Regions from separate parts of the Homo sapiens genome. Here all the other regions are linked to region 1. Evidence: promoter capture Hi-C in human tissues and cell types (Jung and others, 2019). All regions are on one chromosome and are shown on one strand. The core of a region is centred on a gene start or on the middle of the fragment in contact, and the rest is flanking DNA. Distances in the headings are between cores, read along the strand shown.

Region 1 (5,049 bases), core at 1,626-4,125:
CTGAGCTAGAGGTCTGGGGCCTGAGTGCCCCCTACATCCCCGGCCCACCCCACCCCAGGCCCCAGAACTATGGACCTCGGCCGGGGCCTGCCCTCACACGCTTGGGCCCACAGTGGGTGGCATCTACACGGTGCTGCAGACGAAGGCGAAGGTGACAGGGGACGAATGGGGCGACAACTACTTCCTGGTGGGGCCGTACACGGAGCAGGGCGTGAGGACCCAGGTGGAACTGCTGGAGGCCCCCACCCCGGCCCTGAAGAGGACACTGGATTCCATGAACAGCAAGGGCTGCAAGGTGGGACGTGGCCCAGCCCAGGGCAGAAGCGGGTGGACAGCCTGCCATCGGGGTGGGAGCCACAGACGGAGAGGGTGCAGGGTGGACAGCCCCAGCCAGAGAGCGAGGCAGGCTTGGACACAGGAAGGAGGCGTGATAGGACACCCAGACAGATGCAGGGCCTGGAAGTGGGTGGGTGGATCCCAGACATGGGCGAATGGACAGACAGATGGCAAGTATGAGACAGACTGAGACGGAGATCCAAGAGGCCAAGGTCCTCAGACCCAGAGAGAAAGAGAGCAAGATCGAAAGACAGCCTGGTCAACATGGCGAAACCCCGTCTCTACCAAAAATACAAAAATTAGCTGGGTGTGGTGGCGGGTGCCTGTAATCCCAGCTACTCGGGAGGCTGAGGCAGGAGAATCGCTTGAACCCGGGAGGCGGAGGTTGCAGTGAGCTGCGATTGGGCCACTGCACTCCAGCCTGGGCGACGGAGCGAGACTCTGTCTCAGAAAAGAATGCCAGCCAGCCAGGCAGAGCTGGGGAGAAGTGGGCCTGAGGTCAGGAAGGAGCAGGATTCTGGAGCTTGAAGTTCAAGTTCACCCTCCACTTGCTGCCTGTGTGTCCTTGGCTAATGGACATGCTAATAGCGTCTACCTTCTAGCGGTGCTGGGAGGAGGAAACAGTTAATAAGGACAAAGTGGTTAGTAGAGTTCTTGGCATGAAGGTAGCACATTGTGTGGGCGGTGATTGTCATTGTTATGATCATCGTCATTATTGTTACTAACAGCCAAGCTTGGAGAGTGAGGGGGACAGGCAGACCAAGGGAGAAGGGTGGATGGAGCCACAGGCAAGAGTAATAGACTGGGGACAGAAGAGAGGCCACCAGATGTTTCAGAAAGCCAGTCCTAGAAGGAGAGAGAAGCATGGAATATCGGGGAAGAGAGGAGAGGTCAGTGGACAGACCCACAGGACAGAGTCTGAGATGGGCAGATCAGGGATTAGAGAGGAGGGGGAGTTCCAGGGCCCCAGGGTGAAGACGGAAAGAGACACGCTGTTGTCCAAGGAGAAAGCCATCAGGCGGCACGCTGTTGTCCAAGGAGAAAGCCATCAGGCGGCAGGGCTAAGGGACAGACAGGTCCAGGCTGGGGATGGAGAGGCACTGTGGTTCCTTTACTCATTCACAGCCTCTGGTTTGGGGTGGGGTCTGGAATCCATTCAGGTCCGACTGTGTCCCTAAGGGAACCCAGAACAGCCCAGTCGCTTCCTGAGGGCAGCTGCTTCCCACGTGCTGGGGGCCTAAGAATAGCCCCCCCCCCCCCCCAGCAAAAGGGCAGACAACAGCTGGGAGGGGGAGGGACCTCAGAGCGAGGCTCCAGGCAGCAAAAAGCCAGGTCGGCGAGGAGCGGGGCTGCTTCTCCACTGCTGTGGCAGCAGGCCCAGAACCAAAGCCATGGTCTCAGGGAGGAAAACAGCCAACTGGAGAAATGTGGCAGAGGCAGAAGTGAGACAGCAAGTCTTAGAAACACGGCAGTGGCTAGAAAAATGCAGCCCTGGGGCACGGACAGAGGATGGGCTATGTTAGAAATGTGTGGCGTGGCCGAGGGCGGTGGCTCATGCCTGGAATCCCAGCACTTTGGGAGGCCGAGGTGAGAGGATAGCTTGAGCCCAGGAGTTCCTGACCCACCTGGGCAACATGGCGAAACTCTGTCTCTACTAAAAATACAAAAAATTAGCCAGGCATGATGGTGCGTGCTCGTGATCCCAGTTACTCAGGAGGCTGAGGTGGGAGGATGGGATGTGGAGGCTGTAGTGAGCCATAATTTTTTTTTTTTTTTTTTCAGATAGAATCTCACTCTGTCGCTGAGTCTGGAGTGCAGTGGTACAATCTCGACTCACTGCAACCTCCGCCTCCCGCGTTCAAGCAATTCTCCTGCCTCGGCCTCCCAAGTAGCTGGGACCTCAGGCACATGCTGCCACGCCCGGCTAATTTTTTGTATTTTAGTAGAGACAGGGTTTCACCATGTTGCCCAGGCTGGTCTCAAACTCCTGAGCTCAGGCAATCCGCCCGCCTCGGCCCCCCAAAGAGCTAGGATTACAGGCGTGAGCCACCGCGCCCAGCCCAGTGAGCCATGATTGCACCACTGCACTCCAGCCTGGGTGACCGGAGTGAGACCCTGTCAAAAACAAAAACAAACAAAAAAAAATGGAAGAAAGAAAGAAAAAGGAGAGAGGGAGGGAAGGAGGGAGAGAGGGAAGGAAGGAAGGAAGGAAGCAAGGAAGGAAGGAAGGAGGCTGTGGACTACAAAATGGGCCTATGGATAGAGGAAAGAGGTCGCAGGTGACAGATATGTGATGAAAGGAACAGAAACAAGGCATCATGGGGAAGAAAAGTGGCAGCATGAACAGTAAGAGAATCATTACAGGCTGGGTGCAGTAGCTCACGCCTGTAATCCCAGCACTTTGGTAGGCTGAGGCCAGGAGTTTGAGACCAGCCTGGGCAACATGGTGAAACCCTGTCCTTACAAAAAAGTTAAAAATTAGCCGGGATGTGATACCTTGTGCCTGTGGTCCCAGCTACGTGGGAAGCTGCGGTGGAAGGATTGCTTGAGCCTGGGAGATCGAAGCTTCAGTGAACCGTAATTGCACCACTCCCTTCCAGGCTGGAGGACAGAGCAAGACCCCGTCTCTGAAAATAAAAAAGGGCCTGCTTTAGGTGGCTCACACTTCTAATCTCAACACTTTGGGAGGCTAAGCAAGAAAACTGCTTGAACGCAGGAGTTCACGATCAGCCTGGGCAACATAGTGAGACCCCATCTCCACAAAAAATTAAAAAATCAGCCTGGCATGGTGGCCCACGCCTGTAGGAGGTGAGGTGGGAGGATTGACTGAGCCAGGGAGGTTGAGGCTATAGTGAACCATGTTCACACCACTGCACTCCAGCCTGGGCAACAGAGCGAGACCCTGTCTGAAAACAAAAAAGAAGCATCCCGTGGAAGGAATTAGCATCAGAAAGAAAAGACAGTGGGAGATGCAGATGGTTGGTAAGAGAAATGTGGCAGCAAGTACAGAAACAAGGCAGCAGGTAGGGGAAATGATTTGCAGAGTGGCCAGACAGGGCAGTGGGGGCATAGACACAGGACATGTGACATATGTGGTTATAAGCAGAGAAAGGAGGCAGCGAGTGGGAGAAGGGTAGCAGTTACAGGAATTAAACAGGAGGCTGGGTGCGGTGGCTCACGCCTGTAATCCCAGCACTTTGGGACGCCGAGGCGGGCGGATCACAAGGTCGGGAAATGGAGATCATCCTGGCTAACACAGTGAAACCTCGTCTCTACTGAAAATACAAAAAAAAGTAGCCGGGCGTGGTGGCGGGCCGCTGTAGTCCCAGCTACTCGGGAGGCTGAGGCAGGAGAATGGTGTGAACCCAGGAGGCAGAGGTTGCAGTGAGCCGAGATCATGCCACGGCACTCCAGCCTGGGCAACAGAGCCAGACTCCGTCTCAAGAAAAAAAAAAAATTAGCCAGGTGTGGGAGCGGGTGCCTGTAATCCCAGCTACTTGGGAGGCTGAGGCAGGAGAATTGCTTGAACCCGGGAGACAGAGGTTGCAGTGAGCTGAGATCGCACCACTGCACTCCAGCCTGGGCCACAGAGTGAGACTCCATCTCAAAAAAAAGAAAGAAAGAAAGTAAGCAGGGGGCACGGAAAATATTGCAACAGAGATGGAAAAAATGTGTAGCAGGAATAAATCATGCAAATAGAGAAGTAAGGCTAAGGCAGCAGGTGAGAAATTAGCAGCAGATATGGAAACAGAAGATAAGAGAGCTGAGGCTTAAGTCTATAGACATCTGCCTGCAAATGGGAGAACCACGGATGAGTGAAGATATGAGGCTGAAGCCCAGAGCCTCCCTATGGTGCCTCCCCAACCCCATCCCAGGTGTATTTCGGGCGCTGGCTGATCGAGGGAGGCCCTCTGGTGGTGCTCCTGGACGTGGGTGCCTCAGCTTGGGCCCTGGAGCGCTGGAAGGGAGAGCTCTGGGATACCTGCAACATCGGAGTGCCGTGGTACGACCGCGAGGCCAACGACGCTGTCCTCTTTGGCTTTCTGACCACCTGGTTCCTGGGTGAGGTAGGCCCCGTCTGACACATTCCACCCATACCTGAAACTACAATGACCATCAGCCCCTGGGCCAGAGGATGGGCTTCTCCCTGGGCATTCTGGGAGTCATAGGGTCCTTTAATCCAAGGATTAGCTCTGGCCTTTGAGGACATGAACATCCAAGGGCCCAGGCTCTACTCTCGATGCCAACTTCATTTACTCTAGTCTTCCAAGCATAGGGATTCTTGGAATCAGCCTCAAAGTGAGGCTGGCGGGCTTGCCCGAGGAATTCTAGGAGTTGTAGTTCTCTAGTGTGATATTGCTGGACTCAGCTCTCAGATGCTGCCCTGGATGCTCATGAATCCCCAGCCTGACCTGGTTTTGACCCCCTTCTAGGTTTTAAGAGGCTCAAGAAGCTTAGTTTCCAGGCTGGGCACGGTGGCTCATGCCTGTAATCCCAGCACTTTGGGAGGCCGATGGGGGAAGATCACGTGAGGCCAGGAGTTCAAGATGGCCAAACCTCGTCTTTACTAAACATACAAAAAAATTAGCTGGGTGTGGTGGTGGGCACCTGTAATCCCAAATCCCAGCTACTTGGGAGGCTGAGACAGGAGAATTGCTTGAACCTGGGAGGCGGGAATTGCAGTGAGCTGAGATTGCATCACGGCACTCCAGC
Region 2 (5,049 bases), core at 2,550-5,049, 890 kb before region 1:
CCACCCCTCTGCCCCTGGCCTCACATTCCTTGGAAGCACAAATGAGTAAGATGGGAAGGGGGCCCAGTGGACATGTACCTTTCCAGAACCTTCCTAGGCACCCCTCGACCTGCAGGGTAAGGGCCCTATTCCTCAACCTGGCACTCGAGGCCCCTCGGGTCTGTCCTTCGCCCCTGCCTATCTTACCTCCAACCTTTCTTCACTCAAAATCCCACACTTGAGCTACAATGAAAGGCCAGCGGCTCCCTAAACACACGGGGGCCGCCTGCCTCTGGCTTGCACGGGCTGCTCTCTCTGCCAGAAGAGAAAACTCCCAAGAGTCCCTCAGTGCCAAGCTCCAGCATCACCTCTTCCTGGAAGGAATCTCCATTCCCCAGAGGGGTCACGTGCCTTCTCTGGATGTCCCCTGCACCCTGTGTGACCCCAGGATGGTGCAAATCACCCTAACTGGCTGCATCTGTCACCCCACCAGCCTCGAACCTCAGGGGCAGGCCTGGTGTGGGAGCACCCACAGCCAATCCGGGAGCCCAGTAGGATGAGCAAGGCTGCAGTCTCAGAGACACTGGCCATGTTGACCTGGGCTGGGACAGTCCTGTCTTCCCATTCACTTCCATGCTCCTGGGACTGGAAGGTGGTGACTGGTGGCCTTCTTGATTGTGGGCAGCAAAGCCCTTGGGACCGTGACCACTGAGGGCAAGATGTGTCCTACCTGGCCCACACGTGCTTCTCAAGGGCCGCCACCTCAGCCTACCTCTCGTGGGCTCTGAGTGGCAGAGCTGTGGCCGCACAGTGCTGATGACAGCCCAGTCAGGTTCATAGCCGGGGTCAAAGGTTGGTTCCTCCTCAGAAGCACATGAGTCACCCCCACTGGAGTCCTTAGGAGAGGAAAGGAGCAGACAGTAAGGGGCCATGGATTCAGATCTTAGCCTCGAGGCTACCCTGGAAGATAGCCCCATTGAATAAAGAGGGAAACTGAGGCACAAAGAAGGTACAGCAGGCCGGGTGCGGTGGCTCACGCCTGTAATCCCAGCACTTTGGGAGGCTGAGGCGGGCGGATCACCTGAGGTCGGGAGTTCGAGACCAGCCTGACCAATATGGAGAAACCTCGTTTCTACTAAAAAAATACAAAAAAATTAGCCAGGCATGGTGGCGCATGCCTGTAATCCCAGCTACTCGGGAGGGTGAGAAAGGAAAATCGCTTGAACCTGGGAGGCGGAGGTTGCAGTGAGCTGAGATGGCGCCATTGCACTCCAGCCTGGGCAACAAGAGCAAATTCTGTCTCATTAAAAAAAAAAAAAAAAAAAGAAAAAAGAAAGTACAGCACTTGCTCAGGGTCACCCAATGCAGCCAGAGAGCGAGCCAGGACTTGACCCCATGTCTCCCACTGCATGGGGAGGTCCATGCTACACAGCAGGTGGCTCTGCAGTCAGGCTGCGGAGTGCTCAATGGACACTGTTGTACTCACCAGGTAAATACAAACCAAAACCACAATAAGATACCACTTTGCACTCTTTTGAGACAGTGAGACTGTCAAAAAAAAAAAAAAAAAACAATAACAACAACAAAAAAAACACACTACATTTCCCAGGTTTCTTTGCAGCTGGAATCCAGGACACAGGACAAATTCTACCAACCAGATGCAGGCCAACCTGGAAAGCGGAAGTGATGTAACGCAACTTCCTGGTGCCTTGGCTGTGTTTGGCTGTGGAGCAAGGTGGAGAGTCATCTTCATCTTCATCTTCATCCTCCTGCCCTGGGGCAGCGCAGGTGGTCAGCTCAGCCTTCCAGTGTCTCGTCACTAGCTCTGTGGGTGCCGACTGACTTCCGGCCCCTGGGTGGAACTCATCAGCTCCAATGGAGGTCTCATTCCCCACTAAAGAACCCCCCTACAGAGGCATCCAACTTCTCCGTGTGCCTTGAAGGTTGTTCTGCTGTCCCTGAAATACCTTCTTGTCCTTTCATATCCTGGGAGTCCCAGCTCAAATGTCTGCTCTCCCAGGAAGCGTTGGGGATCTGGAATCAGACTGTCTGGGTGCAAAAAGTTCCAACACTTCCTAGCGTTTTCGACCTCATCTATCAGTTTCTCAAAAAGTGAGTAAGGGTCAGGGCTTAGGTGGGTCTGGATCTGACTTATCTCTGGGTCTCAGAATTGCCCAGGACGGGGTCCAGCCATGGGAAGTCCCAGGAGACATAACGAAGGGAAAGCCGGGAGCAGTGACGAAGTGGGTGAGTAGGCTGTCAGGCCCTGTCCTCTGGCACCAGAGGAAATGCCATTTCCCTTCAAGCAACTCGAATCCACATCTTGCACCCTGGCAGGGATCTCCCAAGAAGCAAAGGGAGAGAGGGGTCAGCCGTCCCCACGACCGTGCGTCTTATGCTCCCTGCTCTTTTTCCTTGAATGGGCATCCTCTGCCCATTTCACAGAGAGGAGCAAAAGGAGAGGCAGAGTACCCAAGCCTAAACAGGGTCACACATGCCCCACGAGTAGGTCTGGGATTGTACGCAGGTCCCTCAAATGACTTACAACAGCACGGACCTAGAAAAAAAGCGAGTGGAGAAGGGCAAAGCGGGTGGAGCCTACCTTCTTGGAGAAGAGGATTTGGGTGGAATCTCCAGCCTCCTCTACAGGAGCCCAGTGCAGGAGGACGTCATTGTCCTAGGGTAAGGAGGGAGGCGGGGTTAGAGGCGCTCCCCAAACCACATTCCCAAAACTTTCCGTTGCAAATTTCCAAACTTTCCCAGTTTCTACCCTCAGCCTTTCAAAGTCCCGCCCCTCATTCCAGTTCCCACACCCAGCCTTCTTCAGGTCCCACTGCTGACCGCCAGACCAAACTCCTACAGCTGCCGCCTGCATCCCAGACCGCCTGCATCCCGCTCGGAGCGGGTCCGAGCCCTGCTCCCTCCCAGCGCACCTTTTCCACGACACGGATGACACCAGCGATGAGAGAGTCTCGGTCCTGATACTTCTTAGCGCTGGTGTGCAGGTACACTCCGCCCTTCTCAAACACCACCTGAGTTGGGGGGAACCAGCGAGGGCTGGGGCCCAAGCGAGGGGACCAGCCTGGGGAGCCAATAGGGACGGGCCCAGGGAGGAGCCACCCTCAGGGGGCGGGGCCGGGAGGGCCATTGCCCCGGGACCAAGGCGGGGAGAATGGTCCAGCCCGCGTTCGGATGCTGACGTGCGTTCCACAGGGGGCAGGGCTCAAGGAGTCGCCTGAGCCGGGGGGGCGGGGCCATGGGAGGTTCTTCCCTGGGGCGGTGGACGGGAGGGTGACGGCGCGTTTATAAGAGATCGGTGTTTGCCAAGGCCGTGCCGGATTCTCGAGAGCCAAGGCCTGAGAGAAGAGCTGATCACTAGACGGGGCGTTTCGCATACACTGAAGCGAGGGAATGCGTCCTCAGTGCTTACCCTGTAGCCGGCTCCTTCCATAGTCGCCGCCGAAGGCCCCACTGCCCCGCCTCCTCCTTTTCCTAGTCAGCGTGTTGTCACTTCCGGAGAAAACAGTTCCCCTCCGGGCCGGACAGTGGTAGCGGCCCGACCCGTTCTAGAGAAGGAGCGGGTGAAACCATTTTTCAGAAGGGGGTTATTCCACTGGAACCTCGAGGGTGGATCGGAGTCACGTGGCGCAGACGCTGAAGGTGGATCCGGCTACGGAGAGTGCGCAGGCGCAGTGTTCGCCCTCTCGCCACGAAGTAAACAAGTGGGAGGGTCTGAGAGCTGCACCACCTGGGGCAAGCACGCCTTGAAACGCCCACTTCCTTCTCCATATTGTATACTGGAATTGAAGCCAAGGAGGTACCATTTTGCTCGAGGGCATGGCCTAAGCCGGTCAGCTAAGGCCATGTTAATACGGGGCTGTCCCATCTCTCTGCGGGGCGCGACAGCTGGAAGAGCCGAACGGATAAGAGAAGAGGAGGTGAGAGGAGCTGTACACCACAAGAGGCACTGAGGGACTCAGGATAACGGGATGAAGCCGTCAGTGCCCCCAGAAACGAAGCGGCCCCGGACGAATTTCTGAGTCACCGTCGCGAGAAAGCGGGCTGAGCCGCCATTTTGAAGCCTGGCAAACCGAAGCAAGAAATGCTGCCGTGTTGGATCTTTGCCAGCCTTCGTGCCGAATGGGAGCAGGTTGGAGGGAGGGAGAGCCAATATACACTATGGGCTGATTAAGCCCGGTTGGCTGCCATGTTGTTAACGAGCACCGATTTCCTCTACTTTTGTCGAAGAAGTTTATTGTGGGTCAGGGACGTCAGGTCGCTTGCCTTCGTTTACTGTGGTCATGATTGAGCATATGAGGACGGCCATTATTGTTGGGGGCAAATGGAAATGCTCTAGGCGGGGCCATTTTTCTTAGGGGCAAGCTGTCGTCACCCTTGTCAACTGGTTCGGATGAAGCCCCTGTGGCCGCCATCTTGATCTCGGGCGGCCCCGATAAGGGAGGCGGAGTGTGCGGAGAGGAGGCGGGGCAACTGCGCGGACGTGACGCAAGGCGCCGCCATGTCTTTTGAGGGCGGTGACGGCGCCGGGCCGGCCATGCTGGCTACGGGCACGTGAGTGGAGGCGGCGTTGTTAACCGCGGTGTGGGGAGGATTTGGCCGTCCTGAGGCAGCGGGGCGCTGGGAGGGCGAGCGGCTCACGGGAGGGGTATGGCCTGCACAGATCAGAGGGCAGAGGTCTGCCAGCGATCCTTTGCTGAGCGCTGGAAGGGGGTCGCCCGTGGGAATCGTCCTGTCAGACCTGAGGCAAATCGTAGACAGTCTCACCTTGCGGTTCCAGAGCGCCTGGGATCTCTACCTGGGCCGTGGACCACGTCCACGGGGTCGGGGGATGGTTTGGGGGGCCTCGGGGCGCCCCTCACCCGTCCAAAGGCGGGACTTCCGGTCCTGGCCTCCGTCTGGGCGGGATTTCCTGTTTTCTTCCTAGACCAGTGGGTCCTCCCTGGACCCCGGGCGAGGTTGGGAGGTCTCGGGGCAGCTGAGCGTGGCCCCAGGCGCTCACCCCATGGCTACCGCGTTCATGCTCAGGTTCCTCACATCTTGGGGTGTGGG
Region 3 (4,753 bases), core at 1-2,500, 660 kb after region 1:
TCAAGAGGTTGGCACAGGCCAGGCACACTCACGCCTATAACCCCAGCACTTTGGGAGGCCGAGGCGGGAGGATCACCTGAGGTCAGGAGATCGAGACCAGCCTGGCCAACATGGTGAAACCCCATCTCTACTAAAAATACAAAATTAGCTGGGTGTGGTGGTGCACACCTGTAATCCCAGCTACTCGGGAGGCTGAGGCAGGAGAATCACTGGAATCCAGGAGGCAAAGGTTGCAATGAGCCAAGATCATGCCATTGCACTCCAGCCTGGGTGACAGAGAAAGACTCCGTCTCAAAAAAAAAAAAAAATTTGGCATAAAGGCAGGTGAGATGTCTCCTGATGGAGGAAGGGCATGGGTGCAGACTCCTGGGTCTCTCAGGGAGGAGACCGCTGGGGCCTGGATTCCTGAGATCCCCATTGGCTGGAGGGGTGGAGAGGGCCAAAGATGGACTCTTGGGTTCCTTGAATGAGGAGGACTAGCAATGTGGCTCCTCTCTCCCCAGAACCCTGACTCTGGGTTACATACAGGCCAGATAGTGAAAATTCAAGTTGAGACCCCACCCTGCACCCCGACATCAGGATTGAGGAGCTGCCCCCAGCAACAGGCATTCTTGACTCACACCACTCCTCTCCTGGGTTGAGGGGAGGAGGGGGACCTGGTGAGTCATCTGGTGACTCATCCCCACCCCCCCCCATCTCTAAGCACCAGGGAAACCCCAGCCCCTGGCTATGTCCACGAGGTCCTCACCCCACCCTGCTGCCAGACTGGTGACTGTTGGACATCTTCTGGAGGAAATGGATAGGATTCGCGCTGGGGGGAAGAGAGGCCCAAGAAGGAGTTAGCCTCCCAGGACTCTTTGGTGCCCAGGAACAGGGGACCTAGAGGTCTCCCAGATTTGGGGTGTTCTCATGCAATGCCCTGATCTCAGGGACCCCAGAGGACAGTGGACACCGCTGAGGGAAAAACTGCAGGAAGTTTTCCAGTGGAGGGCTCTGCTGGGACCCCAAAACTTTGCCGGGCCCCACCCCTTCCCATATCCCCACCTCAAGTGCTAAGAGATCACTTATTAAATTAAAAGGATTTCCAAGAGTCAGGGACGTCTCTCCCAGCCTGGGGGTGTCCTTCCCAAACTGCTACATTCCCAAGTAAATTAAGAAGTCCCAGCCCTGAATAACGGACTGGAAACTTACCGAGAGCCGCGAAAAAAGTCAGAGCTGGAGTCGGAGTCTTGTCCCTCGCTCGGGCCTCCGTGCCCCGCCCTTCTCCTCCCTCCTTTCACCCTCCCGAGGCCCCCGCCTCTCTCACCGCCTTCCTCCCTCCCTTGCTCTCCCCTCCAATCCAGAACCCTTTCTCTCTCGCTCGCTCTCCTTCTGCGTCTCTTCTCTCCCTCCTGCCCTCACTGTCTGGGCCTCCTTCTCTCTTGCTCCCGTTTCTCTTTCTCTCCTCCTCTCAATATATACTGACCCTTTTATAAACCCACCCTCACCGCACCCAGCTGAGGTCGGCTGCCAGTGGGAGGGCCCAGGCACTCCGGTTCCTCTTTCTTTGGGCCCCCACCCAATCCCTCCAGACAGACATCATCTGGGGCTCCCTCCCAGGGTTGAGATGAGAAACTCTTGGAATGGGGTTCTTGGGGGGGGCAAGCGTCAGGGGTGGGAGGGCCCGATTCTCAGGACCCTTGAGTTTTGAGGTCTTGCCCTGGGGCCGGATGTCTGCTTTCCCTGATGGAGCTTGGAGCTGGATAGGAGTCTGGGAAAAGAGGCCAGATTTCTGTGGCATGGACTTGAGATTGGGCTGGTGAAGTTGGCCCCGTGGTGGGGGGTCAGAGGATGGGAGATGAAATTTGTGAAACTCGGCAGGGCGTTGTGGCTCACGCCTGTAATCCCAGCACTTTGGGAGGCCGAGACGGGCAGATCATCTGAGGTCAGGAGTTCGAGACCAGCCTGGCCAACATGGTGGAAACCCGTCTCTATCAAAAATACAAAAATTAGCCGGGCGTGGTGGCGGGCGACTGTAATCCCAGCTACTTGGGAGGCTGAGCCATGAGAATCGCTTGAACGCGAGAGGTGGAGGCTGCAGTGAGTTGAGTTTGCACCACTGCCTTCCAACCTGGGGGACAAAGTGAGATTCTGTCGCAAAAAAAAAACAAAACAAAACAAAAAACAAACAAACAAAAAAAAAAACCTTGTGAAACTCTGGAAGCGGGGAGGAAGCGGAAGCTAAGAATCCCAGCGCCATCATTTCCTGGTTCAGTGACCTTGAGCCAATTATTTCACCCACCTGGGCTCCAGTATCTTAGTCTATGTTGAGAGTATAATAATGCTGACAAAATACTAATACTGATAATAATAATTCTGATACTTATGCTGAATGAATAAGGTAATACTGGCACACTCACACACCTAACCTGTTCCTTCCTTCATCAAACATTTATTGAACATGTACTCTGATCTGGGAGTTAATAATGAAAACAGACATGAGCCCTGCTGGTATTATGGAGCTTGTATTCTAGTAGAGGAAGACAGACAAGAGAAAACATCAATGATGAAGATAAATCTCAGATAAGGATAAGTGACTTGAAAAATAAATACAATAGGCTGGACGTGGTGGCTCATGCCTGTAATCTCAGCACTTTGGGAGGCCAAGGCTGGAGGATCACCTGAGGTCGAGAGTTCAAGACCAGCCTGGCCAACATGGTGAAACCCTGTCTCTACTAAAAATACAAAAATTAGCCAGGCATGGTAGTGGGCGCCTGTAACCCAGCTACTCAGGAGGCTGAGACAGGAGAATTGCTTGAACCCGGGAGGCGGAGGTTGCAGTAAGCTGAAATCACGCTACTGCACTCCATCCTGGGTGACAGAGCAAGACTCCATCTTAAAGAAAAAAAAAAATAAAAGAAGAAAAGAAAAATAAATACAATAATAAATCAAACAGAGTGATGGAGATAATGACAGAGTGCAGGGAAGACTACTTGAAACAGGAAAATCAGGGAAGGCCTCTTGGAGGAGGTAACATTTGAGCTGAAGACAGGAGTCATTTGAACGCTGGGGTTGGGGAGTGGTGGGGGGGCGTCGGGGGGAGAGGAAGTGCAAAAGCTCTTAAAGCTTTTGAGAACAAGCTCAGGTTGTTTAGGGAGCAGACAGAAGGGCCAGTGTGGCTGGAGCACAGGGAGACAGAGGGAGTGGTGAGAAGGGAAATCAAAGGGTGCCCTTGAAGACTAGGGGAGGGGCTTGGATTTCATTCTAAGTGCAGTGGAAAGCCATTAGGTTTTAACAGAGTGTAGTACCAAAGATTTTTATTTTTTTTTTGAGATGGAGTCTTGCTCTGTCATCCAGGCTGGAGTGCAGTGGCATGATCTCAGCTCACTGCAACCTCCACCTCCCGGTTCAAGCGATTCTCCTGCCTCAGCCTCCTGAGTAGCTGGGATTACAGGTGCCCGCCACCACGCCCAGCCAATTTTTGTATTTTTAGTAGAGACGGGGGTTTCTCCATGTTGGCCAGGCTGGCCTCGAACTCCTGACCTCCAGTGATCTGCCTGCCTTGGCCTCCCAAAATGATGGGATTACAGGCGTAAGACACTGTGCCTGGCCCCAAAGGTTTACTGTTAACTATTATTATTAATTTTGGGGATATTAAATTAGGGTCGGGGTGATGACTACTATGTACACGAGTCTCTTGGGAGGGGACCAGGTGCCCAGAACTCTGATAAATTGAGAGCAGGGGAATTCAAATCCTGGATCCAGGGAAGGGAACTGGATGATGGGATGTCTGGGTATCTGATGGGCCAGAGCTGGGTTTGGGATAGCTGTTGGTGATTCGGGCTCCCTGAGGGGGTGAGGGATGGACAGTTCAGTGCTTGGCTGGGTACCCCAAGACCTGGAAGCTGGAATACCAGTATAGCACAGACTCTAGAGCCACACTGGTTGGACTCAAAATCCAAGCTGTTTTACTCAATGGCTGTGTAATTTTTGGCAAGTTACTAATAACTTCTCTATGCCTCAGTCTCTTCATCTGAAAAATAGAGATAATAGTAAATACATTATAGGGCAGTTCTTAGGGTAGTGCTAGTCATATCAGGCATTGGGGCTCTGAGTGGAGTCAGTACTGGGGGACCCTGATTCAGGATCTCTAGGAGTTGGGGAAGGGGCAAATTCTTGGGTCCATTGGGTCTCAAGGCTAAAGTTGGGAATCCAAAATGAGGGTCCCTGGGGGAGAATAAGTAGTCTCAAACTTAAGTGCCTGAGAGACAGAAACTGGGGTCCGCACTCAGATCCCTAAGGAAGTTGCAAAGTCTGGGTCACTGAAGGAAAAATTAGGGGCTGGGGAGACATACGTTCCTCTTGGGGAGCAGGAAAAGAGGGCTCCACTTTCTTGAGAGGACTAGGGGGAGCCAGGGGCTAGGAAGATGGAAACTTGAGCCGGGGAGGTGAAAAACACGAGTCTAGGACTCAGAATCAAGTTCCCTGAGTGGGATCGGCGCCAGGCTTGGGTACCCTGGGGATATTAGGGGGGTCCCCGCACTATGGCTATGTAGAAGGGGAAGAATCAAAGGATCTGAGGGTGGCGGCGGGATCTCCCCATCCTGGGCCTCCGAGATTATGAGCTGAGCTGAGCGTACGCAGGCCGCTTCCTCCCACAGGAAACCGCAGGCTTCGGGCACACCCAGCCTGCAGGGAGAGGCGCCCACTGCCCGCCCGCCCGGGGAGGCCCACGTGGGCAGCAGCCGCCGCCGCGGAGGGGGCGTGCCTTACA
Region 4 (5,049 bases), core at 1,404-3,903, 590 kb before region 1:
ACCTAGAACCAGGTTTGTTACAGCTGACAAGGGCCTTAGTCCCTGGGTAATGAGGCAGTGCCTCTCTGACTGGCCTCTGTGGTCCACGAATGGCAATAATAGCAGCCACTTACACAGCCTGTATTCTGTGCCAGATACTGTTTACCTATATAAACTCATTTTACTTTTTTTTTTTTTTGACATGGAGTCTCGCTCTGTCAGCCAGGCTGGAGTGCAGTGGCACAGTCTCAGCTCACTGCAACCTCTGTGTCCTGGGTTCAAGCGATTCTCGTGCCTCAGCCTACCAAGTAGCTGGGATTACAGGCATGCGCCACCACACCCGCTAATTTTCTTTTTTTTTTGAGACAGAGTCTCGCTCTGTCACCCAGGCTAGAGTGCATTGGTGTGATCTCCGCTCACTGCACACTCCACCCCCCAGGTTCATGCCATTCTCCTGCCTCAGCCTCCCGAGTAGCTGGGACTACAGGTGCCGGCCACCATGCCCGGCTAATTTTTTTGTATTTTTAGTAGAGATGGGGTTTCACTGTGTTAGTCAGGATGGTCTCGATCTCCTGACCTCGTGATCTGCCCGCCTCAGCCTCCCAAAGTGAATTTTCATATTTTTAGTAGAGATGGGGTTTCACCATGTTGGCCAGGCTGGTCTTGAATTCCTGACCTCAAGTGATCTGCCTGCCTCAGCCTCCCAAAGTGCTGGTGCTGGGATTACAGGCGTGAGCCACTGTGCCCGGCCTCAACTCATTTTACTTTTCACAGGAGTCATACAAAAATTAGCCAGGCGTGGTTGTGGGCGCCTGTAATCCCAACTACTTGGGAGGCTGAGCCAGAATAATCACTTGAAAGGGGAGACAGAGGTTGCAGTGAGCCGAGACTGTGCCACTGCACTCCAGCCTGGGTGACAGAGCGAGATTCCATGTCAAAAACAAAACAAAACAAAACTTTTCACAGGAGTTTTTTTTTTTTTTTTTTTTTAGACAGAGTCTCGCTCTGTCACCCAGGCTGGAGTGCAGTGGCGCTATCTCAGCTCACTGTGACCTCTGCCTCCTGGGTTCAAGCGATTCTCCTGACTCAGCCTCCCGGGTAGTTGAGATTACAGGTGCGCACCACCACGCCTGGCTAATTTTTTGTATTTTTAGTAGAGATGGGGTTTCACCATGTTGGCCAGGCTGGTCTCAAACTCCTGACCTCAAGTGATCCACCCGCCTCGGCCTCCCAAAGTGCTGGGATTACAGGTGTGAGCCACTGCGCCCGACCAGGAGTCCTATTATTATCCCCAGTATAGAGAACAGGAAACTGAGGCACAGAGAGGTAATATAGCTTGCCGAAGGTCACACAGTGTGCAAGTGTGAGAGCCAGGATTTCAGTGAAGGCAGTGTCCGCCAGAGAAGAAAGCAAGGAGCAGGCAGCTTATCTTTCTTTCCCCACTGTGTCTACAGCACCTGACACAGATGCTTATAAACATGTCCACTGGTGATCTGGAGTCTTCCCTTCCTGGTAATTTCCACTTGTGCCTCTTTCTGTGCTCATTGTCACATCCACCCACAGACAACAAAGATTACGAGAGAGGCAGAGGCAGGGGATTAGTTATATTATTGGGTCTAGGGACCTAAGTGGGCAGGGGCCCTGGACTCCTGGGCCTAGGAGCCCCAAACTTCTGGGTCTCGGAGGGGCGGGGAGCCAGGATGCCTGGGTCCCCAAGCCAGGCTCTTCCTCCAGGGACATTCACTTACCTGCCCAGAAATGTGAGCACTGCCCCTTCCTCTTTAATCGAGAACTCCTTGGCCAGCTACAGCCAGCTGTGAAAGGGGACAGGGAAGAGGGGAGGGGATAAGGAGGAGGGGCGCCCCACTCCCGGTAACCAGGCCTGATCCCCGTTTCTGGCAGGTGGGCGGAACTTGCCATTACCTGCCCTGGGCGGGACTCAGGTAAGGGACAAAGTATTTAAAGGGACCTTGGGATAAAGGACTTAAAGGCCAGAGCTCCATGAGGAAGCCAAGGTGTCGAATACCATGGGATACCTGGGGGATTAGATTCGACCCTCCTCCTCCCTCCCGACCCCTACCCGCTCTGGCTCTCCCCTGGGAGTTCGTCTGTCCGAGCTAGAAAAATTAATATCTAGGTCTCTAGGTATCTAGAAACTAGCGGGAACGATATGCCTTAGTCCCTGGGACAGCTGGGCAGTGCCGCAGTAAATCCCTGTTTCCTGAGAGCGACTTGAACGGCTTTGATTTTCAATTTCCCAATGGCTCTGTCTGTAAAATGGGAGCGTAGTTGTCTCTTCTCAATTGTTTTAAGATGCAGCAAGAAAAGTGGATGATATATTTGGGAAAGTGGGCTTCCCGATCTCTAGGGGAAGTGATTAGTCCTTAAATTTGGGCTTGGAGAGACTCAAAACCTGGGAACCAAGCAGGAAAAAACGATCTCCCTGGGAAATGCCTCGTACATAGTAAGCGTTCCCCATATTCCCACCAGTTTCAATATCCGGAACTTTCGATTAGCTACTCACGTTTCCGGAGAGAGAAAGAGAAGAGAGGACTTGAGCAAGCCAGGCGAGGCACTTCCGCAACTAGGGGCAGCTCTACTTCCGGTGCCTTCTGCTGGGCGGAAGTGGGCGGAGCGGAGGGGGAAAATAGTGCTCCTTTCCGGTGTCGGGGCACAGTTGAAGAAGCGACCGAGGGACTGGGAGTCGTTAGTGAGGTGAGTTCGAGGCGGTGCAGGAAGAGTGTTGCTGGGATCGCTTTCCTGCGGGCTAGAGGCCTGGGGTCTTGAGGGAGACTGGGGCAAGATTTTGGATTCCCGATTCCCTGTCAATCATTATTAATACAGCTGTCCGGGCGCCCCAAGTTTGAAGCTGAACTACACTCTGCTGGAGGTGGCCAACCGTCCATCGGGCAGTTCTCTCTCTCTTTGTCTCTCTCTCTCACTATAAACTCAGTCAAGTGGTAGCTAGCATCGGCCAGTTCTCCTGAGAGTTACAGTTCTGCTGTAGATGATGGCTATTTGCTGGTGGTCCCAAGGGAAGGAGTGGACTGGGATTGCTGGGGGTCTAAGGAGTGGGAGTTGAGGAGGGAGAACTCCTTTCCTGGCCTCAGTTTCTCAGACTGTGGTGGGACGGCGGGCGATACTAGATTGTGCAGTCATCCATCGCCACCTTCTCTTCACCTTTTTGACAGCCCCTTCCCTTTCGGGGTTGGTGCAGGGATTCACGTTTTCTTGTGTGGAGCTTCGGGGTCAGGCAGTCATGGATTCCCATTCTGATTGTGCTGCTAATTCTGTGAACTTGGGGCTTGAACGGTCCTTGAGGCAGTTTGATGTTAATGTTTTCTTACGAAAATGTTCAAACTTATATAAAAGTGAGAGAAGAATACAGGAATTCCTGTCACCCAAATCACCAATGATTATTTTTGCCATACTTGCTGTATTTTTTTAAACTTAAAGAGATTAAAACAAATCGTAGGCATCATGACACTTAAGGATTGTCAAAAGACAAAATTGCAACACATTTAGTGAGAAGATCTTAATTGGCATTTATTCGTGAATCTACAATCAAACAACATCTAATTATGGAAAATAGCGTGAGTGTTCCGATGAGCTGAGCAGAGGTTGTTTTCAGAGACAAAGGGCTGAGAAAATCAGAAACGGAAAACAAAAAGCTAGTTGATTAAATTGATTAACTTGATTAAATTTCTAAGTTAAAGGTTAAAGTAGAGGGGACTTCCTTTATCAGGTGGGCTAAAACTGGGTTGTTTGGGGATTTGGCTATTATCTCTCTCCTGATATCTCAGAAGATCAGATATCAACTTAGTTTTGGCTTGGAAGCATGGAACTTTAGCATGAGTGTCTCCATTTTGGTTTGGTCTGTTGAACCTAGTGCAGGAGCTCAATCCAAACCAATGACCTTCTATAAATTTTATCTAACAGGGTGCGTGTGTAAAAACCAGAAACATTGCTGATATGACCACAATACCATCATCACACTTTAAAAGAACAACCGTAATTCTAGACTACTATCCATTACGTGGTGCAGAGTCAAGTCCAGTGTAACTGTGGGTTTGTTGGAATCAGGATATAGTTAAGTAATTGCTATCGTCTTTTACATCTCTCTTAATTTAGAACTGTTCCCCCTTCCACTCCACTTTGGTTATTTCTTGGTGTAATCGATTCATTGAAGAAACTAATTCTAGTTCAGTTGATCATCCCACCATCTGAATTTGTCCCGTTTGCTTTTTTGTGGTCTCATTTTACCTGCTTCTGTTTTCTTTCTTTTTTTTTTTAAGTATTTAAAAATAGGCCAGACACAGTGGCTCATGCCTGTAATCCCAGCACTTTGGGAGGCCAAGGCGGGCGGATCATGAGATCAGGAGATCAAGACCATCCTGGCTAACACGGTGAAACCCCTTAGCCGGGCATGATGGCAGGCACCTGTAGTCCCAGCTACTCAGGAGGCTGAGGCAGGAGAATTGCGTGAACCCGGGAGGCAGAGCTTGCAGTGAGCCGAGATCACGCCACTGCACTCTAGCCTGGGCGACAGAGTGAGACTCTGTCTCAAAAAAAAAAAAGAAAAAATAGATAGAGACAAGGTGTCACTATGTTGCCCAGGCTGGTCTCAAACTCCTGGGCTTAAGCGATCCTCCTGCCTTGGCCTCCCAAAGTGCTGTGCTTAGATTACAGGTGTGAGCCATTGAGCCCGGCCTCATTTTACTTGTTTCCTCATGCCAGGGATCAGCTAATTATGTTCTACAGACCAAACTCAAATCCTGCCAGCTACCTGTTTTAAAAATCCCCATTGGGCAGGCACAGTGGCTCATGCCTGTAATCCTTGCACTTTGGGAGGTGAAGGCAGGTGGATCATCTGAGGTCAGGAGTTCGAAACCAGCCTGGCCAACATGGTAAAACCTCATCTCTACTAAAAATACAAAAATTGGCTGGTCATGGTGGCTGGCACCTATAATCCCAGCTACTCAGGAGGCTGAGGCAGGAGAATTGCTTGAACCCTAGGGACAGAGGTTGCAGTGAGCTGAGATCATGCCACTTCACTCCAGCCTGGGCAAA
Region 5 (5,049 bases), core at 1,681-4,180, 530 kb after region 1:
GGATCTGTACAGACGTTTCTCCAAAGAAGGTATACAAATGGCTCATAAACATATGAAAAGATGCTCAACATCATTAGCCATCAGAGAAATGCAAATCAAAAGCACAAAGGAATACCATTTTGCACCCACTTAGAATGGCTATAATAAAAAAAACAAGTGTTGGCGAGAATGTGGAGAAATTGGCATCCTCATACACTGCTGTGGGGAATGAAAAATTGCAGCTGCTGTAGGAAGCAGTCTGGCAGTTACTTAAATGGTTAAACATAGAATTACCACATCACCCAGCAATTGCACTCCTACTTATGTACCCAAGAGAAATGAAAACAGATGCAAAAACTGGTACACAAATGTTCACAGCAGCATTACTCATAATAGCCAAAAGGTGGAAACCCAAGTATCAACCAACTAATGAATAAATAAAATGTGGTATATTCATCCAATGAATAGTATTTGACAATAAAGAGAAATGAAGTATCGATAGATGCAACAACATGGATAAACCTTGAAAACATTATGCTGGCCAGGTGCGGTGGCTCGCACCTGTAATCCCAGGACTTTGGGAGGCCAAGGTAGGCAGATCATTTGAGGTCAGGAGTTCGAGACCAGCTTGGCCAACATGGTGAAACCCCGTCTCCACTAAAAATAACAAAAATTAGCCGGGTATGGTGATTACAGGCGCGCACCTGTAATCCCAGCTACTCGGGAGGCTGAGGTGGGAGAATCACTTGAACCCGGGAGGTGGAGGTTGCAGTGAGCTGAGAGTGCACGAGTGCACTCGAGCTTGGGCGACAAAGCAAGACTCCATTTAAAAAAAAAAAATTAATTGTGATGGCTGCACAATTGTGAATACACTAAAAGCCATTGAATTGTACCCTGTAGTGAGTGTATGATATGATATGTGAATTAGATTTCAATGAAGCTATTGTAAAATAAATGAAATGGGCCTCATGCCCGACCCTCTGATCTTTGGCAACTCTTTCTGAGTCTCGGTTTCCTCCATTGTAAGGTGGGGAAATTGGGACTTCTTAAAAGACCAGGAAGGGCCTTCTTACCATATGGATGAGGGCCCAGTCCTGGCTTAGTTGCTCACCCACCATGTCCCCTGGGATCTCTGGCTTCTTTTTCCAGAGACTCAGTTTGCTCAACCATTTACTAGGTGTGTGATGGATGACAGGTCAAATCCTTTCCTGAGCCTCAGCTCTCATCTGTGAAAGGCAGGAGGCCTGGGGGCTGGGCATGGTGGCTCACACCTGTAATCCCAGCACTCTGGGAGGCCAAGGTGGGAGGACTGTTGGAACCCGGGAGTCTGAAACCAGCTTAGGGAACATGGCGAGACCCTATCTTAAAAACAAAAAGTATCCAGCCATGGTGATGCAGCTACTGTGGAGACTGAGGTGGGGGATCACTTGAGCCCAGAGTTCAAGGCTGCAGTGAGCTATGATGCTCTACCACTGCACTGCAGCCTGGGCAACAGAGCAAGACCCTATCTCTTAAAGAAAAAAAAAAAAAAAAGAGGGCAGGTGCGGTGGCTCACACCTGTAATCCTAGCACTTTGGGAGTCCAACTCAGGAGGAATGCGTGAGGCCAGGGGTTTGAGAACCAGCCTGGGGAAGACAGCAAAACCCTGTCTCTAAAAAATAAATAAATAATTAAAAATAAAAAATAAAGGAAGAAAAGAAATGGAGGGAATCGCAGCAGCCTGTCAGGGTGGACCAAAGGAAAGGGCTGGGCATGGACCCGCACCCCTCATTGCCTTCAGGGTTCACTGCAACGTTACCAAACGCTTGGCCCTGTGGTGGGGAACTTCCCAGGAACTGGCTGGATCAGGACAAACCATTCCAGGGGTTAAATAATTTGTGCTGGAACCTGGGGATCCTCAGGGGCTTCTTGGCAGGGCCTGGCACACTCCATTTGGAAAGAAGACCATGAGACAATGTCAAGTTTGGCACCAACTGGGTCTCCCAAAGCCCTGCACCTGCTTCCCACAACCACGCAGGCAGCCTGGCCATTCGCGAGGGTTCATTAGGCCCACTTGACAGAGGCAAGGCTGAGGTGAGGGGACCAGCCTGGCTGTGTCCAGTGCCCACAGTGTACCCCAACCTTGACTCTATCTCACCCCTGACAACCCTGCATGTTAGAGACTGTTCTCCCAAAAAGGGGAAATAGGCTCGTTGCCCAAGGGGGCGGCCTGGAGGTCAACATCAGGATGCAGCATCTACACCTGCAGCCCTCCCCAGCCTGGGGATCCCCACTCAGCACTGACTCCACCCTCAGGAACCACCCCCGTGGGCTGGGGGGGCAGGTGGGCACTGACACTGACCTGTGCTCCCCAGGCCCCAGCCTGGGCCTCTCACCCCCACTTGCCCATCTCTCACCAAAGCCCTTTGATGAAGGGACCTGGCTTTTCACAGAAAAGCCAACTGGGGCTGAGGTTAGTCCCTTGTCGCAGGTCTCTCAGCCAGTGGGGAGAGGAGTGGCAAAAGCTAGCCTCCCACCCAGGCCTCCTGGGAGCCACGGCCCGAGTGACAAACCACAGTCTTCTCAAGAGCACTCTGGTTTCAAACACACCTGGTATGTACGAGGCCTCGTGATGAGCTCCCGACATGCCCACAGCCCCCACTGGACTCTCAGACCCCACTGCTCACCTTGGCCGCTCAGGATGCCGGGAGGTGAAGATCATCACCCCCTTTCACAGTTGGGGAACAGGCTCAGGGAACGCCATGAGCTGGCCAGGCCCCCGCAGTGCCAGGGGGAATGCTGGTTGGGTCCTAAGCCTTTCTTTCCTTCCCAGAGTTCTGCCCTCGAAATCCTCCAGTCCCACCTCAGCCCCGTGAGGCAGACCCGTTGTCTACTTCCCAAAGCCAACGGGAACCTTCACCAGGGGGCCATCTGCGGCCAACATGGCCCAGCTCCCAGGCTGGCTGCGACTCAGGCTCAGGGCACCCCCCTCCCCTAGCAAAAGCAGGGCGGGAGGGAAAGGGATCCTCCACCTGACCTGCGAGAGCAGCTTAATGTTTCCATATAAAGGAGATACAGGGCTTAAGGTGCTTCAACTTCGTGTCAAAGTCACTGTCTAATCTGAGGCCAAGAAGCCCCGCCCCCAGGCCCCACCCTCACCCTCCCAAATCAACACTCTCACTCTTCCGAAACCAGGGGTGTTCCCCACCACTCCCCACCTACTGGTGGGGGCTGGACAGCAGGTTGGAAAGCAGAGACTACAGAAAGACAAAGAGATGCAGAGATAGGCAGGAGGAGGGGTGTTGAGAGGGTGCCCCAAGAAAAAGTACAGGGACCAAGCAGGACAGGGACCCTGAGAGAGAGGGGGACAGAGACCCAGAGAGGGCAGCAGGAAAGGGACATTGATCCAGAGAGAAAGGGACAGAGACCTTGAGAGAGGACAGAGACCCAGAGAGAGGGGAACAGAGACCTTGAGAGGATAGAGACTCAGAGACAGAGGGGGACAGAGACCCAGAGAGAGGGGGGGACAGAGACCTAGATGGAGGGGGACAGAGAAGATAGAGGCGGACAGGGCAATTGGGAAAACGAAAAGGAGAAAAGAAATGTTTTAAGAAATGGCGACATGGGGAGATGAAATTGTGAAGACAGAGAGAGGCAGAGAGAGATGGGAGAGACAGAGATGGGGGAGAGAGACAGAGACAGAGACAGACAGACTGAGAGGGTTTCTCTGAAAGGATGGAAGCCAGTGAGAAAATGCATAAAATGGGGATGGGGTGAGAGTTGGAGGCACTGAACCTGGGGGTGGATTCTCCTGGCGCTGAGCCTGTCACTGATGGGAAGACAAGGCCTTCTTGAAGGGGACAAGCTGAGGACAGGGATGCTGGGGCAGGGGTGGATGGGGGCGACGCAGCAGAGCAGGAGGGGATGGCTCAGCGGTGCCTTGCATGGAGGCACGTACCTGTTGGGGCGGCCCACCCCCATGCCCTCCGCTGGGGGCTCCTCGGCTAGGGCTGAGGGGAAGCCTCTGTGGGTGCTGAGGGGCTGTAGTCTGTCCTTGGTCCCAGGGGCCGTGTGACGGGCACCCGACCTCGGAGTCCACAGATGGATCAGAGGCTGGATGGAGGGGGGCCGGGGGTGGGGCTAGCTCAGAGCCGCAGAGGGGGAGCCAGGGAGGCCAGCCAGGCAGAGCGGCTGGGCCACAGCCCAGGCAGGCTGGACAGGAGACAGCGGCGGAGGAGCGAGACAGCGACTAGGGGGCAGGGAGACTGGCAGTGGGGGACGGGAGACTCTGAAAGAGGGGGACACAGAGAAGAAAGAAAGAAACGTGATAAAGGGGAGATGGACGGAGGGAGAAATGGGGGGTCCAGAGTTCCCTGAGATGAAGCCTTCATAAGCTGGTGGGGGTCAGGGATGAGGCCCCTTTCACTAAGCCAGAGTGAGTTCCAGATGGAAGGACACTTAGAGAAGGCAGAACGCGGCGGCACCCAGTGGGCGGAAGGTTGGGTTGCACTGGACTCCCAGTGGCCTCCCCCAGCCTAGCGGCCTGGGGGCAGCTGGTGCCAAATTCCTCCCCACCCCCAAACTCCCCCCACACCCCGTTTCCTCATAGGGCTGTGGCCAAAGGACCAGAGTCTCAAATACACCTCAGGCCTCTTCCTGGTCCTTTATTGCTGCTCAGGAGCCCTGACCTTCCTCCCGACACAGCACCAGCCTCTAAAGTCAGGGAGGAGGGGAGAGGGTCGCATGTAGCCCCCACACGGAGAAATCCTGGCCAAACCCAGCTGGCAGGAAGACAACGGGCAGAAGCAAATTGTGTTGGAGGAACCCACACCTCCAATTTGGTGCAGCCACTGTATATCCCCCGAGTCCCCTGCTGGGAACCAGCAGCCAAAACTGGGTCCTGAGCCGGACGCGGTGGCTCACGCCTGTAATCCCAACCCAGCACTCTGGGAGGCCGGGGCGGACAGATCACTTGAGATCAAGAATTTGAGACCAGCCTGGCCAACATGGTGAAACCCCGTCTCTACTAAAAATACAAAAATTAACGGGGTGTGGTGGCACATGCCTGTAATCCCAGCTACCTGGGAGACT
Region 6 (5,049 bases), core at 1,608-4,107, 540 kb before region 1:
AAATACCACATACCACCTTCTCATGGAGGCCTTGTCCAAGTTCCCTGTTTAAAATTGCAGCTCCAGCCGGGTGCGGTGGCTCATGCCTATAATCCCAGCACTTCGGGAGGCCGAGGTGGGCAGATCACCTGAGGTCAGGAGGTCGATACCAGCCTGACCAACATGGAGAAACCCCATCTCTACTAAAAATACAAAATTAGCCGGGCATGGTGGTGCATGCCTGTAATCCCAGCTACTCGGAAGGCTGAGGCAGGAGAATCACTTGAACCCAGGAGGCGGAGGTTGTGGTGAGCCGAGATTGCGCCACTGCACTCCAGCCTGGGCAACAAGAGCAAAACTCCGTCTCAAAAAAAAAAAAAAAAGAAAAAAAAGAAAAATTACCTGGGCCTGGGCTGGGTGCTGTGGCTCACGCATTAATTCCAGCACTTTGGGAGGCCAAGGCGGGCGGATTGCCTGAGCTCAGGAGCTCGAGACCAGCCTGGGCAACACAGTGAAACCCCATCTCTACTAAAATACAAAAAAAAAAAAAAAAATTAGCTGGGCGTGTGGGCGTGCACCCATAGTCCCAGCTACTCGGAAGGCTGAGGCAGGAGAATTGCTTGAACCTGGGAGGCAGAGGTTGCATGAGCTGAGATCACGCCACTGCACTCTAGCCCGGGAGACAGAGTCTCACTCTGTCTCCAAAAAAAAAAAAGGAAAGAAAAAAAACTTTGCTGGATGTGGAGGCGTTCACTTGTAGCTAGGACTTGTAGCGTTCACTTGTAGCTAGGACTCTAGCTACTAGGGAGTACGAGGCAGAACAACTGGTTGAACCCGGGAGGCGGAGGTTCCACTGAGCCGAGATCACGTCACTGCACTCCAGCCTGGGTGACAGAGCGAGACTCCATCTCAAAAACAACAACAACAAAAATAAAAATAAAAAATAAAAATACAAAATTAGCTGGGCGTGGTGGCTAGCGCCTGTAATCCCAGCTACTTGGGAGGCTGAGACAGGACAATTGCTTGAGCCCAGGAGGTGGAGGTTGCAGTGAGCCGAGATCGCACCACTGCACTCCAGCCTGGGTGACAGAGCGAGACTCCATCTCAATAAGTAAATAAATAAATAAATAAATAAATAAAAATTGCAACTCCCCCCCACCAACAACCTCTCCCCTCCACACTTTCTGACTCTCTTGCTTTATCTTTCTTGGATGCATTTATCTCTATTTGATCCACTTTCTACTTATTGACTTCTTGCTGTTTCCCTCACCACAGTGTAAACTTCAGGAGGACAGATGTGTTAGCTGTTGTGACTTCAGCACCTAGAGCAGTGCCTGGCACATAGCAGGTGCTCGATAAACCTTTGCAGGCTCAATCAGTGTCAGGAGGATGCACAGAAGAAGGCGGCTGCTCCCATCGCGCCCCCCTGCGCTCAGGCCTGGACGGAGAGGGTGGACAGGGCTCCATTCCACCCAGCTCACCCTGAAACTCAGGGCTCTGCCACTCTCCTGCACTGGCCGGGCTCCTTAAAGGCCAAACCTCATTTTCCACACCAGTCCCTGCCATTTACAGAGCAGGAAACTGAGGCTTGGGGAGGGGAGATGTCTGGGACAAAAGAATAAGGAGCGCTTAGGGGGCAGAATCTAACCCAGATTTTGCTGCCCTCAAAGGTCCTCTTTTTTATTGTTGTTGTTGTTTTTTAGACGGAGTCTCACTTTGTCGCCCTGACTGGAGGGCAGTGGTGCAATTTTGGCTCACTGCAACCTCCACCTCCCAGGTTCAAGCGATTCTCCTGCCTCAGCCTCCCGAGTAGCTGGGATTACAGGTGCCCACCACCACGCCTGCCTAATTTTGTATTTTTAGTAGAGACGGGATTTCACCATGTTGGCCAGGCTGTTCTCGAACTCCTGACCTCAAGTGATCGGCCTGCCTTGGCCTCCCAAAGTGCTGGGATTACAGGCATGAGCCACCACGCCCGGTCTCAAAGGTCCTCTTTAGGCCTCAATTTTAACTTAATTTCTTTTTCCCAAGGATAGAAGGTAGAATTTCATTTCTCACAAAGAAATGAAGTTCAGTCCACGCCATTTCTCTGACCCCTGTCGATACCCCCGCGTCTCTCTCCTAAGCCCCACCTCTGGACACGCCCCAACCGAATGTCTCTCTTACCCCAGACGGGCCTGGCTTTCCTCTGGGGTGAGTTGGTCGAATTCCTTGGCCACTTCCCGTCCCAGGAAAGCCTCATGGTCGTACTGGAAGTTCCCGTGGGCGTCATCATGGGGAGCGTCGCTCAGGGGGGCCGCCTGGTGCACCCTCCCCTGGCCATGAGGGCCTGCGTCTGGGGATGGCTTCCCCTGGGCCCCGTGCCTCAGTAGCAACAGAAGCAGCAGAACTGATGGTCGCCACATCATCGGTCCCTGGGGAGTGGCAAAGGCCAGGGGTCAGGGGTCACAGGGATGGGGACAGACACGGGATAGGAGAATGGCGGGGTGGAGGGGTTACCTAGGACAGGACAGGGAGTTGGAAGTTGGCTGCAAGCTTTCGGGCTCAAAAAGGGCGGGCGATGGGGGAAAAGAGGGCGGGATGCTTAGAGGTAAAGCCACCTATGGGGAGGACCGAATCTTCTGACGGAGTCTCAGGGGGGTCCCAGACCTGCCAGGGGGAATTACAGAGACAGACGTGGCGCACATCCCACGCAAGGTGCAGGGCATAGTTGTGGCCAGCGAGAGGTCAGGCAGGCTCCCCGTCATTGCTCCCAGTCCGGACCCTGGTCCTCGACCCGAGCCGCCCTCCCTGGACAGAGGCCCCCCACCCACTCCCTTTACCCTGTTATCCAGCTTCGCTCCGCTCTCCACGCTCCGCTCTGCGTTCCCGCAAATGTGCCCAATTCGGCCGCTCTCCAGTCAGGCCCCGCCTCTGGCAGCGCAGAGCCCCGCCCCCCGCCCAATGAGCTCGCACGAGCGTCTCACGGGGCGGGGCCAATGAGTGCACGGGGTGCCGCGGGCACTCCTCGCCACGTCCACAAAGGAAACCGCGGCCTGCCCGGGGAAGAAGGGTGGGCGACACCGCAGTGACGCGGCCGGGGAGAACTACAACTCCTGGCAGTCGTCGCGGCACTCTGCCGTCCACCTCCAGCTGTTCTAGTCACAACGCCTCACGGGAAATGTATTTTTCCCTTTCCCTTTGTCAGGATGGTTTAAGAAAGAGGTGTACGTTCCAACACTTCTATACCAAACAAAACAAAACAAAACAAAAATAAACAAAAAGAACGAAAGAAAAGAAAAAAGGCCGGGCGCGGTGGCTCACGCCTGTAATCCCAGAACTTTGGGAGGCCGAGGCGGGCGGATCGCCTGAGGTCGGGAGTTCGAGACCAGCCTGATCAACACGGAGAAACCCCATCTCTACTAAACATACAAAATTAGCCGGGTGTGGTGGCGCATGTCTTTAATCCCAGCTACTTTGGGAGGCTGAGGCAGGAGAATTGCTTGAACCTGGGAGGCGGAGGTTGTGGTGAGCCGAGATCGCACCATTGCATTCCAGCCTGGGCAACAAGAGCGAAACTCCGTCTCAAAAAAAAAAAGAAAGAAAAGAAAAGAAAAGAAAAGGGAGAGCAGAATCAAGGGGCCGGAGGAAATATCCCATTTCCTCCAAGAGTGAACACTGCTCCTCGCTCCTCTTCGGCTCCAAGGATTCAGGTGGTCAGACAGTAGCCAAGAATTCCTCAAAATGCCTGGCATGGCAGTCATCCAGTAAATATTTGTAAAAGTTATGAATTAAAAATACATGACCTCAGGTTGAGCACAGTAGCTCAATGCCTGTAATCCCAGAACTTTGGGAAGCTGAGGCAGGTGGATCACCTGAGGTCAGGAGTTCCAGACCAGCCTGACCAACATGGTGAAACCCCGTCTCTACTAAATACAAAAAATTAGCCGGGTGTGGTGGTGCATGCCTGTAATCCCAGCTACTTGGGAGGCAGGAGAATTGCTTGAACCTGGGAGGCGGAGGTTGCAGTGAGCTGAGATCACGCAATTGTACTCCAGTCTGAGCAACAAGAGCAAAACTCTGTCTTAAAAAAAAAAAAAAAAAGTGACCTTAGGCCGGGCGCGGTGGCTCACACTTGTAATCCCACCCCTTTGGGAGGCAGAGGCGGGTGGATCATGAGGTCAGGAGATCGAGACCATCCTGGCTAACATGGTGAAACCCCGTCTGTACTAAAAATACAAAAAATTAGCCAGGCATGGTGGCAGGCGCCTGTAGTCCCAGCTACTCGGGAGCCTGAGGCAGGAGAATGGCGTGAACCCAGGGAGGCGGAGCTTACAGTGAGCCGAGATCGCGCCACAGGACTCCGGACTGAGCAACAGAGCAAGACTCCGTCTAAAAAAAAAGAAAAAAGAAAAAGAAAAAGAAAATACATGACCTGATGTATAAAACTGGCAGGTTCCCCTGTGGCAGCATGTTACCTGTAGGAGAGATCCGAGGCCCAGCCGCCATTCAGTCCCCCGACTTATTCCCTTACCTCCCCTGCCTGAAAAATGATGAGAACACACTGATTCGGGCCCAAACTCGTGTTATATTATCGAGGTGGAAAACAGCCATATGTATTAGGAGGGGAAACTGAGGCAGACCACAGGACGGGGCTCCAGAGGGAGGACAACTAGGCCCAGAACCCCTTCTGGAGGCTCAGAGATGCCAGTGTTCCAGGAGGTCTCACAGCATGAAAGGGGCCTGACTACATTCGCTTTTAGCAGTCGGAATGGCGGATGGTCAGGCGGTGGCTGGAATCACATTTACATCCTTCAAATCAGCATCCTGGGCCTCCCCTGGGGTGGGCAGGAGGACCCCGGTGTCGTCTCCACGAAGGGAGATCCAAGGGGCTGAGGAGAGAGAGAGAGGGAGAGGTCATCAGAATCTCTGAGGCGCTCTGGGTCTGACTGGCGTCCCCCATTTGTGTGTGTGTCTCACACACTCTTCCTCAGTCTCTATCCCCTTCCTTCTGGGCCTTTGTCTCCCCTTCTCCCAATTTTCCGTCCCCCCTCTTTCTACATCTTTGCCTCCCTCCTCTGGGTCTGTCTC

The links. Contacts are between HindIII fragments. The study calls those that stand out against the background at their distance.
Region 2: a contact is called between the fragment with the promoter of AKT1S1 here and a fragment that was not itself captured in region 1, in 1 of the 25 tissues and cell types used here (dorsolateral prefrontal cortex).
Region 3: a contact is called between the fragment with the promoter of EMP3 here and a fragment that was not itself captured in region 1, in 3 of the 25 tissues and cell types used here (dorsolateral prefrontal cortex, lymphoblastoid cells and spleen).
Region 4: the fragment with the promoter of NOSIP here is called in contact with a fragment that was not itself captured in region 1 in 1 of the 25 tissues and cell types used here (dorsolateral prefrontal cortex).
Region 5: the fragment with the promoter of KCNJ14 here is called in contact with a fragment that was not itself captured in region 1 in 1 of the 25 tissues and cell types used here (H1 embryonic stem cells).
Region 6: a contact is called between the fragment with the promoter of RCN3 here and a fragment that was not itself captured in region 1, in 4 of the 25 tissues and cell types used here (dorsolateral prefrontal cortex, heart left ventricle, lymphoblastoid cells and 1 more).

What each region holds. Positions count from the first base shown.
Region 1 is chr19:48,986,548-48,991,596 of GRCh38, reverse strand. It overlaps GYS1 (glycogen synthase 1), which reads left to right. Exons shown (of 16, transcript NM_002103.5): 2 at 114-295; 3 at 4,212-4,403. Among named protein-coding and RNA genes, the nearest start is that of GYS1, 4.2 kb to the left of the region's middle. RefSeq lists an enhancer at 1,441-1,832 and a silencer at 2,963-3,145. The HindIII fragment of the contact is 7,422 bases long and covers 1-5,049 here.
Region 2 is chr19:49,876,105-49,881,153 of GRCh38, reverse strand. It overlaps AKT1S1 (AKT1 substrate 1), which reads left to right and starts at 3,799. Exons shown (of 5, transcript NM_001098633.4): 1 at 3,799-3,917. TBC1D17 (TBC1 domain family member 17) reads right to left here and starts at 3,452. Exons shown (of 17, transcript NM_024682.3): 1 at 3,410-3,452; 2 at 2,913-3,011; 3 at 2,582-2,656; 4 at 752-875. The coding sequence starts at 3,430. RefSeq lists a silencer at 2,966-3,255 and enhancers at 2,299-3,258, 3,476-3,815, 3,996-4,635, 4,219-5,049. The HindIII fragment of the contact is 21,916 bases long and covers 1-5,049 here.
Region 3 is chr19:48,322,049-48,326,801 of GRCh38, reverse strand. EMP3 (epithelial membrane protein 3 (MAM blood group)) reads right to left here and starts at 1,250. Exons shown (of 5, transcript NM_001425.3): 1 at 1,192-1,250. It overlaps LOC124904735 (a long non-coding RNA gene), which reads right to left. Exons shown (of 2, transcript XR_007067284.1): 2 at 3,280-4,012. RefSeq lists enhancers at 367-436, 727-776, 1,377-1,426, 4,327-4,386, 4,397-4,456 and 1 more and silencers at 2,004-2,235, 4,567-4,753. The HindIII fragment of the contact is 22,631 bases long and covers 1-4,753 here.
Region 4 is chr19:49,578,160-49,583,208 of GRCh38, reverse strand. NOSIP (nitric oxide synthase interacting protein) reads left to right here and starts at 2,653. Exons shown (of 9, transcript NM_001270960.2): 1 at 2,653-2,694. It overlaps PRRG2 (proline rich and Gla domain 2), which reads right to left and starts at 1,893. Exons shown (of 7, transcript NM_000951.3): 1 at 1,728-1,893; 2 at 1-2. The HindIII fragment of the contact is 33,716 bases long and covers 1-5,049 here.
Region 5 is chr19:48,453,455-48,458,503 of GRCh38, reverse strand. KCNJ14 (potassium inwardly rectifying channel subfamily J member 14) reads right to left here and starts at 2,930. Exons shown (of 3, transcript NM_013348.4): 1 at 2,646-2,930. It overlaps GRWD1 (glutamate rich WD repeat containing 1), which reads right to left. Exons shown (of 7, transcript NM_031485.4): 7 at 1,482-5,049. The HindIII fragment of the contact is 6,064 bases long and covers 1-3,167 here.
Region 6 is chr19:49,525,811-49,530,859 of GRCh38, reverse strand. RCN3 (reticulocalbin 3) reads right to left here and starts at 2,857. Exons shown (of 7, transcript NM_020650.3): 1 at 2,802-2,857; 2 at 2,146-2,393. The coding sequence starts at 2,387. FCGRT (Fc gamma receptor and transporter) reads right to left here. Exons shown (of 7, transcript NM_001136019.3): 7 at 4,432-4,850. The coding sequence ends at 4,741. RefSeq lists a silencer at 2,780-2,899 and an enhancer at 2,363-2,941. The HindIII fragment of the contact is 21,368 bases long and covers 1-5,049 here.